Regions from separate parts of the Homo sapiens genome. Here regions 1 and 2 are each linked to region 3. Evidence: promoter capture Hi-C in human tissues and cell types (Jung and others, 2019). All regions are on one chromosome and are shown on one strand. Each heading gives the region's core, a stretch centred on a gene start or on the middle of the fragment in contact. The rest is flanking DNA. Distances are from core to core; before and after follow the strand shown.

Region 1 (2,700 bases), core at 42-2,541, 290 kb before region 3:
ATGCAGTGGCTCATACCTATAACCCCAAGACTTTGGGAGATGGAGGCAGGAGGATCACTTGAGGCCAGGAGTTCAAGACCAGCCTGAATAACATAGCAAGACCCCATCTCTACAAAAAAATTGTTAATAGGCCAGGTGTAAGCACACCTGTAGTCCTAGCTACTCAAGAGGCTGAGGCAGGAGAAGCAATTGAGCCCAGGAGTTCGAGGATGTGGTTAACTATGATCACGCCACTACCCTCCAGTCTGAGCGACAGAGTGAGACTCTCTGTTTTTTTTTAAGCTAGTAATCCATTGAAGATATCCTTTACAACATTCTCCACAGATCCTAAGCTTTTAAGATACAACTAAGCACACAGGATCTCTGCAAGTGGGTGAGGATAATGGTTTTTCATCACTAACAAAGGATGTTATTGTAGTAGTTTATATCAAGAAAGTAAAAGACCAGGTGCAGTGGCTTAGGCCTATAATCCCAGCACTTTGGGAAGCCAAGGCAGGAGGATGACTTGAGCCTGGGAGGTCAAGGCTGCAGTGAGCTGTGATCATACCACTGACAGCCTGGATGACAGAGCAATACCCTGTCTCAAAAGAAAAAAAAAAAAAATCAGGAAACAAAACAAAGGAAAGAAAAAACTCAACCCCCATCTGGGAATCTAATCACAGTACTCTGCTGGTTTTTTTGGTTTTGTTTTTTGTTTTTTAAGAGACAGTCTTGCTCTGTCACCCAGGCTGTAATATAATGGCATGTAGTTCACTGCAGCCTTAAACTCCTGGCCTCAAGTGATCCTCCCACCTGAGACTCTCAAAGTGCTGGGATTACAGGTGTGAGCCACCTTGCCCAGCCCAGCACCCTACTTCTGATTCTTCAGTTTAAGTAACCCTAAAGAACAGACAATATTTAACAAATACTCATTTAGAGAAAAAGCTGTTTGGAGAAGGCAGCTAACTCAGCTTCAAATCCATCACCAAAACGAAAGGAAACCACTGAGAAGGTCAAAGACAGTCTCCTTACCAAATAGACATCCACTGGACCTGGCAGGATGCAAAGGCACAGCCCCCACTCAAGCAAAAGGGTGCCTCACATGGAGCTGTCTTGCTCTGGGTGCCACGGAAATCTTCCAAACCATGTGTGGCCTTTATAGATCCTTCATAATACACTTAGCTTTCAGAGACAGCATACCTTTCTCACATGTCACAAAGGTTTTCAGATTCACTGAAACACTACCAGCCTCCACAAATACATAGTTCTTGCCCAAGCACTTTAAGAACCATTCTGTAAATAAGTCCTTAGCAATCTCCCTTCACATATTCTTCCAGACTCAAGAAGGGAGGTGTATTAGTCCATTCTCACGCTGCTATAAAGAACTGCCTCAGACTGGGTTATTTATAAAGGACAGAGGTTTAATTGATCCACAATTCCACAGGGCTGGGGAGGCCTTAGGAAGCTTACAATTATGGTGGAAAGAGAAACAAACACATCCTTCTCATATGACAGTAAGAGAGAGAAGGGCTGAGCAAAGGTGGAAAGGCCCCTTATAAAACCATCATATCCTGTGAGAACTCACTCACTATCATAAGAACATGATGGCGGAAACTGCCCCCATGATTCATTTATCTCCACCTAGTCCCGACCTTGACACGTGGGGATTATTACAATTCAAGGTGACATTTGGGTGAGGACACACAGCCAAATCATTATCAGGAGGACTTCCTATAATCATAGTTCACCACGCCCAGCTAATTTGTAAAAATTTCACTACAATCATAGAGCACTGCAACCTTGACCTCCTGTGCTCAAGAGATCCTCCCACTTCAGTCTCACAAGTAGCCGAGACTAAAAGCACACGCCACTGTGCCCAGATCCAAGACTGTTTGTGGTTTGTTGGTTTATTTCTATTTTTAGGGAGATACTCAGCAGAAACAGGGTGCCACAGTCCCATAAATGGGAAAAATAGCCGGTGTTTTTCATGTTAAAGAGGTTTCCTTAACTGTCGGGCTTCTTGGAGTCACTAATTCTGACTCTCTCATGAGGGAGACTGTACAGGCAGCATTTTCCACACATATTTGACTACTATTTTTGGTGAAATGTCCCCACTGACACCAGAATAACGTTCCATATTATAAATGCTGAGAAAGGTTAGCATTCAATACTGCACAAGGCAGCTTGCCTTTTGACAGTGATCCAAACTGTATTACCACATTAAATTGTTATCAAGAGAAAGGATAATAAAAAAGTAAATCTTTCCTTATACTGAAGTTATCATAATGTAATCTATATCTAAAAGAGTTGGCCAGGCGCGATGGCTCACGCCTGTAATCCCAGCACTTTGGGAGGCCGAGGCGGGTAGATCACGAGGTCAGGAGATCGAGACCACGGTGAAACCCCGTCTCTACTAAAAATACAAAATATTAGCTGGGCGCAGTGGTGGGCGCCTGTAGTCCCAGCTACTGGGGAGGCTGAGGCAGGAGAATGGCGTGAACCCGGGAGGCGGAGCTTGCAGTGAGCCAAGATCGCGCCACTGCACTCCAGCCTAAGCAACAGAGCGAGACTCCACCTCAAAAAAAAAAAAAAAAAAAAAAGGGTTAACATGTTTTGTTCCTTTCCCATGATTTAGATGTGCGTACGCCCTAAACAAGCAATCTGTGGTAACTCTGAGAGATTCTTCAGTCACTAAGAAATTCTTACTGCCCAATAGCTGAG
Region 2 (2,700 bases), core at 28-2,527, 310 kb after region 3:
AGCCAGTCACCAAGTAGTTTGTATTCATCTGCTATAATAACTTCTTTGCAGTTCACTGTGACTTCGTTCCCTCCTACCTTTGTTACTTCCTTTGATGGCAGCAAAGGCTGCCTCACTGATTTCACTACCACCAGTCCCATCCTGTTCATCTTGGAGGTCGCAGACAGCTTCATCTTCCTGAAGTACCTCTTTCGTGCTTCTGCTTCCCTGTTCTAAAACCTTTTTTAAAAAGTTTTATTGAGCTGTAACTCACAAATCCTACTACACTTTACCCAGTTAAGGTGGACAGGCCAGTGAGCTTTCGTGTATTCACAGAGTTGTGTGTCAGTACCACAATCAATTTTAGGACATGTTCATCACGGCAAAGGAAGCCCTGTACCCCTTCGTTGTCATCCCACAATTTCCCCCTCTCCCCAGCTCCTGGCAACCACAGAAATGCATTCTCTCTGCGGGGTTGCCTGTTCTGGATATTTTGTACATATAGGATCATACGGTGTGTGGTTTCCATCAGTTAGCATCCTGAGTTCAGAGTTCACCCATGTTCTAGCATGTACCAGCACTTCATTTCTTTTTACTGCTGAATAATATCTTATTGTATAGATATACCATAATTTATCCAGTCACCAGTTAGTGGACATTTGGGTTGCCTCTACTTTTTGGCTGTTATATATAATGCTGCAATGAGCATTCATGTACAAGCTTTTGTGTGGACCTGCATTTTTATTTCTCTTGAGTATAAACCCAGGAGTGGGGTTGCTGGAGGATCATGACTCTGTTTAACTGTTTGAGGCCAATAACTCTTATTTATTTATTTATTTTTTATTTTTTATTTTTGGAGACAGGGTCTTTATCTGTCGCCCTGGCTGGAGTGCAGTGGTGCAATCATAGCCCACTGCAGCCTCGACCTCCTAGGCTTAAGTGATCCTCCCACCTCAGCCTCCCAAGTAGCTGGGACCACAGGTGTATTTCACCATGCCCAGCTAATTTTTGTATTTTTTGTAGAGATGGGGTTTTGCCATGTTGCCTAGGCTGGTCTTGAACTCCTGGACTCAGGAGATCTGCCCACCTCAGCCTCCCAAAGTGCTGGGATTACAAGCATAAGCCACTGTGCCAGGCCTTAGGTCCCTTTCAAATGCAAGATATTCCTGATTTTCCTGTTCTATTATTGCAGGGGAAGGGAAGAATTGTCTTTTTACATTCTCCCGAAAAGGAGAATTGGAAGATTTGGTCACCCTGGGCCCACACTCCTGTGAGGCACCACCTGAATGCACCTGAGGTACTTAACTGTACCTCTGAGGGACACCAGCCTTACTCCATCCTTTTCGCTTTTGCTGGCCCCGGTAGGCATTGGAATCTCTGAGCTTTGCCCTAGACCCCTCCTTCCAGAAGCTCAGCCGGCTTCTTCATTGTGCTCTGTTTCTAAAGGCCAGTGGTGCCCACGCCACTCAACTTCACACCGTTCTGTTGTAGGGTTGAAGAGTGGGTAATTAAAAGGGAAATGTTTTGGTGGTAAGAATTGCAGGCTCTGGGTCGAACTGCCTGGGTTTGAAGCTATTTTTACCTCTTTACCAGCTGTGTGTGACCTTGGGTAAGTTATCCAACCTCTCTGAACTTCAGGTTCCTTATATTTTAAAATAGGGGAAATAGAGGGGCCTCCTTATATGTTGTTATTCTGAGGATAAATGGACTGATCCACAAACATTGCTGGCATCAGTTTCTCTTTTTCTGGATGTCTTCTCAACAATAGCACAAGAACTTGAAGGCCACAACACTACAGAGCTGGGGGATCTCAGCCATTGTTTTCCCAGTGGAGACCACTCTTGGCATTTTGGTTGGCACAGTTGGGCTGGACTTCCTGCTCATTTCAAGGTTTAGTATCCCTGGACAGAGCTGCACCCTCTAGCTCCTGGTTGTTATGGCCGGGGACAGAGTGCCTTCCTACGAGTGGCTGCCGGCTTCATTTCTTGCCCCCCAACACTGGTGCTGCTGTCGGGAATGGCATATCGGGCTGGATTCAGGGCAGGTTGTTCCCCCAGCCATGACCTGGACATGCTTGCTGTCTGGTTGGCCCGAGAGTGCACACCACCAACCTGGTCAGGGCAGGTGCCCAGGACTGGCGCCATGGACCCAGAGTGGCTGCTGGGAGGGGAGCATGCTGGGCTCAGCAGGCCTGAACTTAGGATCTGCTGCTTTTTGTCTGTTGGAATTAAATGTTAACTAGATACTAGGTAAATTTAAAGTTTACAGAATGCATGGAAGAGATACAGAACTATGGTATAAGAAACGGGGATGCACCTACCACCCGTTTTTAAAAAAGAATTTGATTCTCCTGCGTGTCCCTCCCCACGTTCTGACCTATTTCCTCATCTTACACTTCCAAATTGTGGATAGATTATTCCCTCGCTTCTCTTTCTGTTTCCATGCACGCCTGGTTCCCTAAACAACCTGTTGTTTAATTTTGAACAAGAGTCATCCTGTATGTGTCCGAGCATGGATCTTTTTGTCTCTGTGTCCAGCATTTGGGAGAATCGCCTCAGCTCTGTCTTCTGCTAGCTGACTCTTTACAGCTGTTTCTCATCTGTAAGGCCCATCTACTGAATTTCTAGTTTCCAATTATATTTTTCATTTATTGAAGTTCTGTTTATTTTGGTCACTTTATATCCTGTTTTCTTTTTCTTTCTTTTTTTTTTTTGAGACAGG
Region 3 (2,700 bases), core at 137-2,636:
GATTGCTTGAGTCCAAGAGAAGTGAGCTGAAATCGTATCATTGCACTCCAGCCTGGTGACAGAGAGAGACCCTGTCTCAAAAAAGAAAGAAAGAGAGAAAGAGAGAAAGAAAAGAAAGAGAGAAAGGAAGAAAGAAAGAGAAAAAAGAAAAGGAAGGAAAGCTGAGGCACAGAGCGCTGAGTTGCCCATGGTCACACAGTTAGCAGGTGGCACAGATCCTGTCTAGTTTCAGAATCCTTGTCCTTGAACATGCTTTGCTCTCTCTCTGAGATTCTTTCAGCTCTTGAGCTTTAGAAATGGAAGTTTCCAGCAAGTTCTTTGCAGCAGCTGATGTTCCCTATTAAATGACAGTGGGGAGTCTTAGAAGTATTCGGGAGGCCTACGTTCACCGCTAACATCCTTGTTGTGAAGGCCTGCTGACGTTTGCCATTCCAGGACCAAGTGGACAATGAGTTAAGCTAGGCCAGGAGGGGGTTCAGCTCCCCATAACAAGGCAGGGGTGGCCCTTTGTGTCCGGCAGCATGGTAGCCCCCCCGCAGGAGCTCCGGCTACCCTTTGTGTTTGACCTTGTGGAAGGGCATGGGAAATGCTGGCCTGTCAGCAGGCATAAACTCAAAAGTTTCTCCTTCAGCTAATTTCAGGGACTGTCTAGCCAAGTGAATACACAGGATTAGGTAATCCATGGATCCTGCGAGGGCAATTGGCTGATTGGCTTAGGTGTGCCCAAGAGCCCTGCAGGTGTCAGAACAAATCCATGTAGAAATGCAGACGCCCACACCAGCTTGAATGGCATAAAGGCACACATTGGAATGTGGCTCATGAGCTGGGACCCAGGATCAACCACTGGTTTAAGGAGAGGACCGTGAAATGTCCAAACATGGAGGCCAGGCCACCTCCCTGGATGCCTGGCTGAGGGCAGCCACATGTCTGCAGCGGTGGCTTGTGTCCATGACTGAGATGGGCAGGGTTTGCAGGCAGTGGTGATCCCATCAGCAGTCCCCAGATCTCTAATGTCAGGAGAAAGAGCATGGGAAGTCCGACGTCCAGGAAAGTCTTTCATCCTGCTTCTCCCTGCCTTGGGCCTTTTCCCATTTCCGCGGTCACCTGTCCACAATGGCTGCACTGTGTGGCTCTTCAGGTGTTCCTAAGACACTGAACAACCAAACCCATGGACTGACCGGATATGAAATTGACGTGGGAGGAGATCAGGCAGGTGCTGGGGCTGCCTGGCGCAATGCACGGAGCCAGAAGTGCTGTTATGGGGAGGGTGTTATTGTTTTAGTGGGTGCAGCAAAGGGTGGTTTAGCCAGCTGGGCAGATCAATTGTAAATTGTTATTTACAGTTTCTGAGCCTTTAAAAGAAGAGCTTCGCCGGAATCAGTCTTCATTACAGATGTGCAGCACCATGAGGGCCCTGGTGCTTCTGCTGTCCCTGTTCCTGCTGGGTGGCCAGGCCCAGCATGTGTCTGACTGGACCTACTCAGGTGAGCCCCTAGCTTCTGCATGCTCCCCCAGTTACCCTCACACCCTTACAACAGGACAAGTGCCCTTCTTCTTCTTCTTTTTTTTTTTTTTAGACAAAGTCTTGCTCTGTTGCCCAGGCTTGAGTACAGTAGTGTGATGTTGGCTCACTGCAACCTCCGCCTCCCGGGTTCAAGTGATTCTGCTGCCTTAGCCTCCCGAGTACCTGGGATTACAGGTGCCTGCCACCATGCCTGGCTAATTTTTGTATTTTTAGTAGAGACAGGGTTTCACCATGTTGTCCAGGCTGGTCTCGAACTCCTGACCTTAGGTGATCTGCCCATCTCCCAAAGTGCTGGGATTACAGGCATGAGCCATTGCGCCCGGCCAAGAGTCCTCCTTTAGGGCATTTCACAGGATGGCCAGGCAGCCCACTTGCCATATGTTGGGGGTCTGCTCATTGTGGCTTCAGATGTTACCTTTTCAGTGTCTCAGAAGGTATGGAGAATAAGCTGAACTTAAACTTCAAATAAGGAAAAGAAGGAAATAGCTTTCCCCTTCACAAACTCCTGATTTACTTACAGGCTTTTTGCTTTAAATTTTTTTCCATCCACAGTGTTGGCTGGTTCAAAAGCACACTCACTGCTTCTATTTGTAAAACCATTTGCTTTGTTGGTCCGTGTAAGTGGAAAACAAAGTTCTTAGAAAAGACTCTCGGTAACCTCACGGAAGGTGCTGTGGGGTTTGCGAGACCTTCTTTCTTGGAAATTTCATGGTAGGCAGTTTACCCAGAACATCTTGACATAAGGACCCAGTTCCCTTTGATCTGTGGGCTGCCAAAATGAGAGGTGTTTTTTTTTTTGTTTTTTTTTTTTTTTTGAGACAGAGTCTTGCTCTGTTGCCCAGGCTGGAGTTCAGTGGTGCCATCTCGGCTTACTGCAACCTCTGCCTCCTGGTTTCAAGCGATTCTCATGTCTTAGCCTCCCAAGTAGCTGGGATTACAGGCACTCATCACCATGCCTGGCTAACTTTTGTATTTTTAGTGGAGATGGGGTTTTACCACGTTGGCCAGGCTGTTCTCAAACTTCTGACCTCAAGTGATCCGCCCACCTTAGCCTCCCAAAGTGCTGGGATTACAGGCGTGAGCCACCGCGCCAGGCCCCAAACCAGACTTTTAAAATGTGAAATGTAAAATCCTGGCATTCAACATGGGTTCTGGTCCACATGTGAGCCAAAGCT

What was found. The method cuts DNA at HindIII sites, captures the fragments that hold promoters and counts their contacts. A contact is called where the count stands out against the background at its distance.
Region 1: a fragment that was not itself captured here is called in contact with the fragment with the promoter of CA6 in region 3 in 1 of the 25 tissues and cell types used here (adrenal gland).
Region 2: a fragment that was not itself captured here is called in contact with the fragment with the promoter of CA6 in region 3 in 3 of the 25 tissues and cell types used here (IMR-90 fibroblasts, lymphoblastoid cells and mesenchymal stem cells).

The regions. Positions count from the first base shown.
Region 1 is chr1:8,651,138-8,653,837 of GRCh38, forward strand. The region is part of intron 2 of RERE (arginine-glutamic acid dipeptide repeats); the gene reads right to left. Among named protein-coding and RNA genes, the nearest start is that of SNORD128, 160 kb to the left of the region's middle. RefSeq lists an enhancer at 906-985. The HindIII fragment of the contact is 5,625 bases long and covers 1-2,700 here.
Region 2 is chr1:9,254,465-9,257,164 of GRCh38, forward strand. The region is part of intron 3 of H6PD (hexose-6-phosphate dehydrogenase/glucose 1-dehydrogenase); the gene reads left to right. Among named protein-coding and RNA genes, the nearest start is that of H6PD, 21 kb to the left of the region's middle. The HindIII fragment of the contact is 5,872 bases long and covers 1-2,700 here.
Region 3 is chr1:8,944,482-8,947,181 of GRCh38, forward strand. It overlaps CA6 (carbonic anhydrase 6), which reads left to right and starts at 1,387. Exons shown (of 8, transcript NM_001215.4): 1 at 1,387-1,484. The coding sequence starts at 1,406. The HindIII fragment of the contact is 10,958 bases long and covers 1-2,700 here.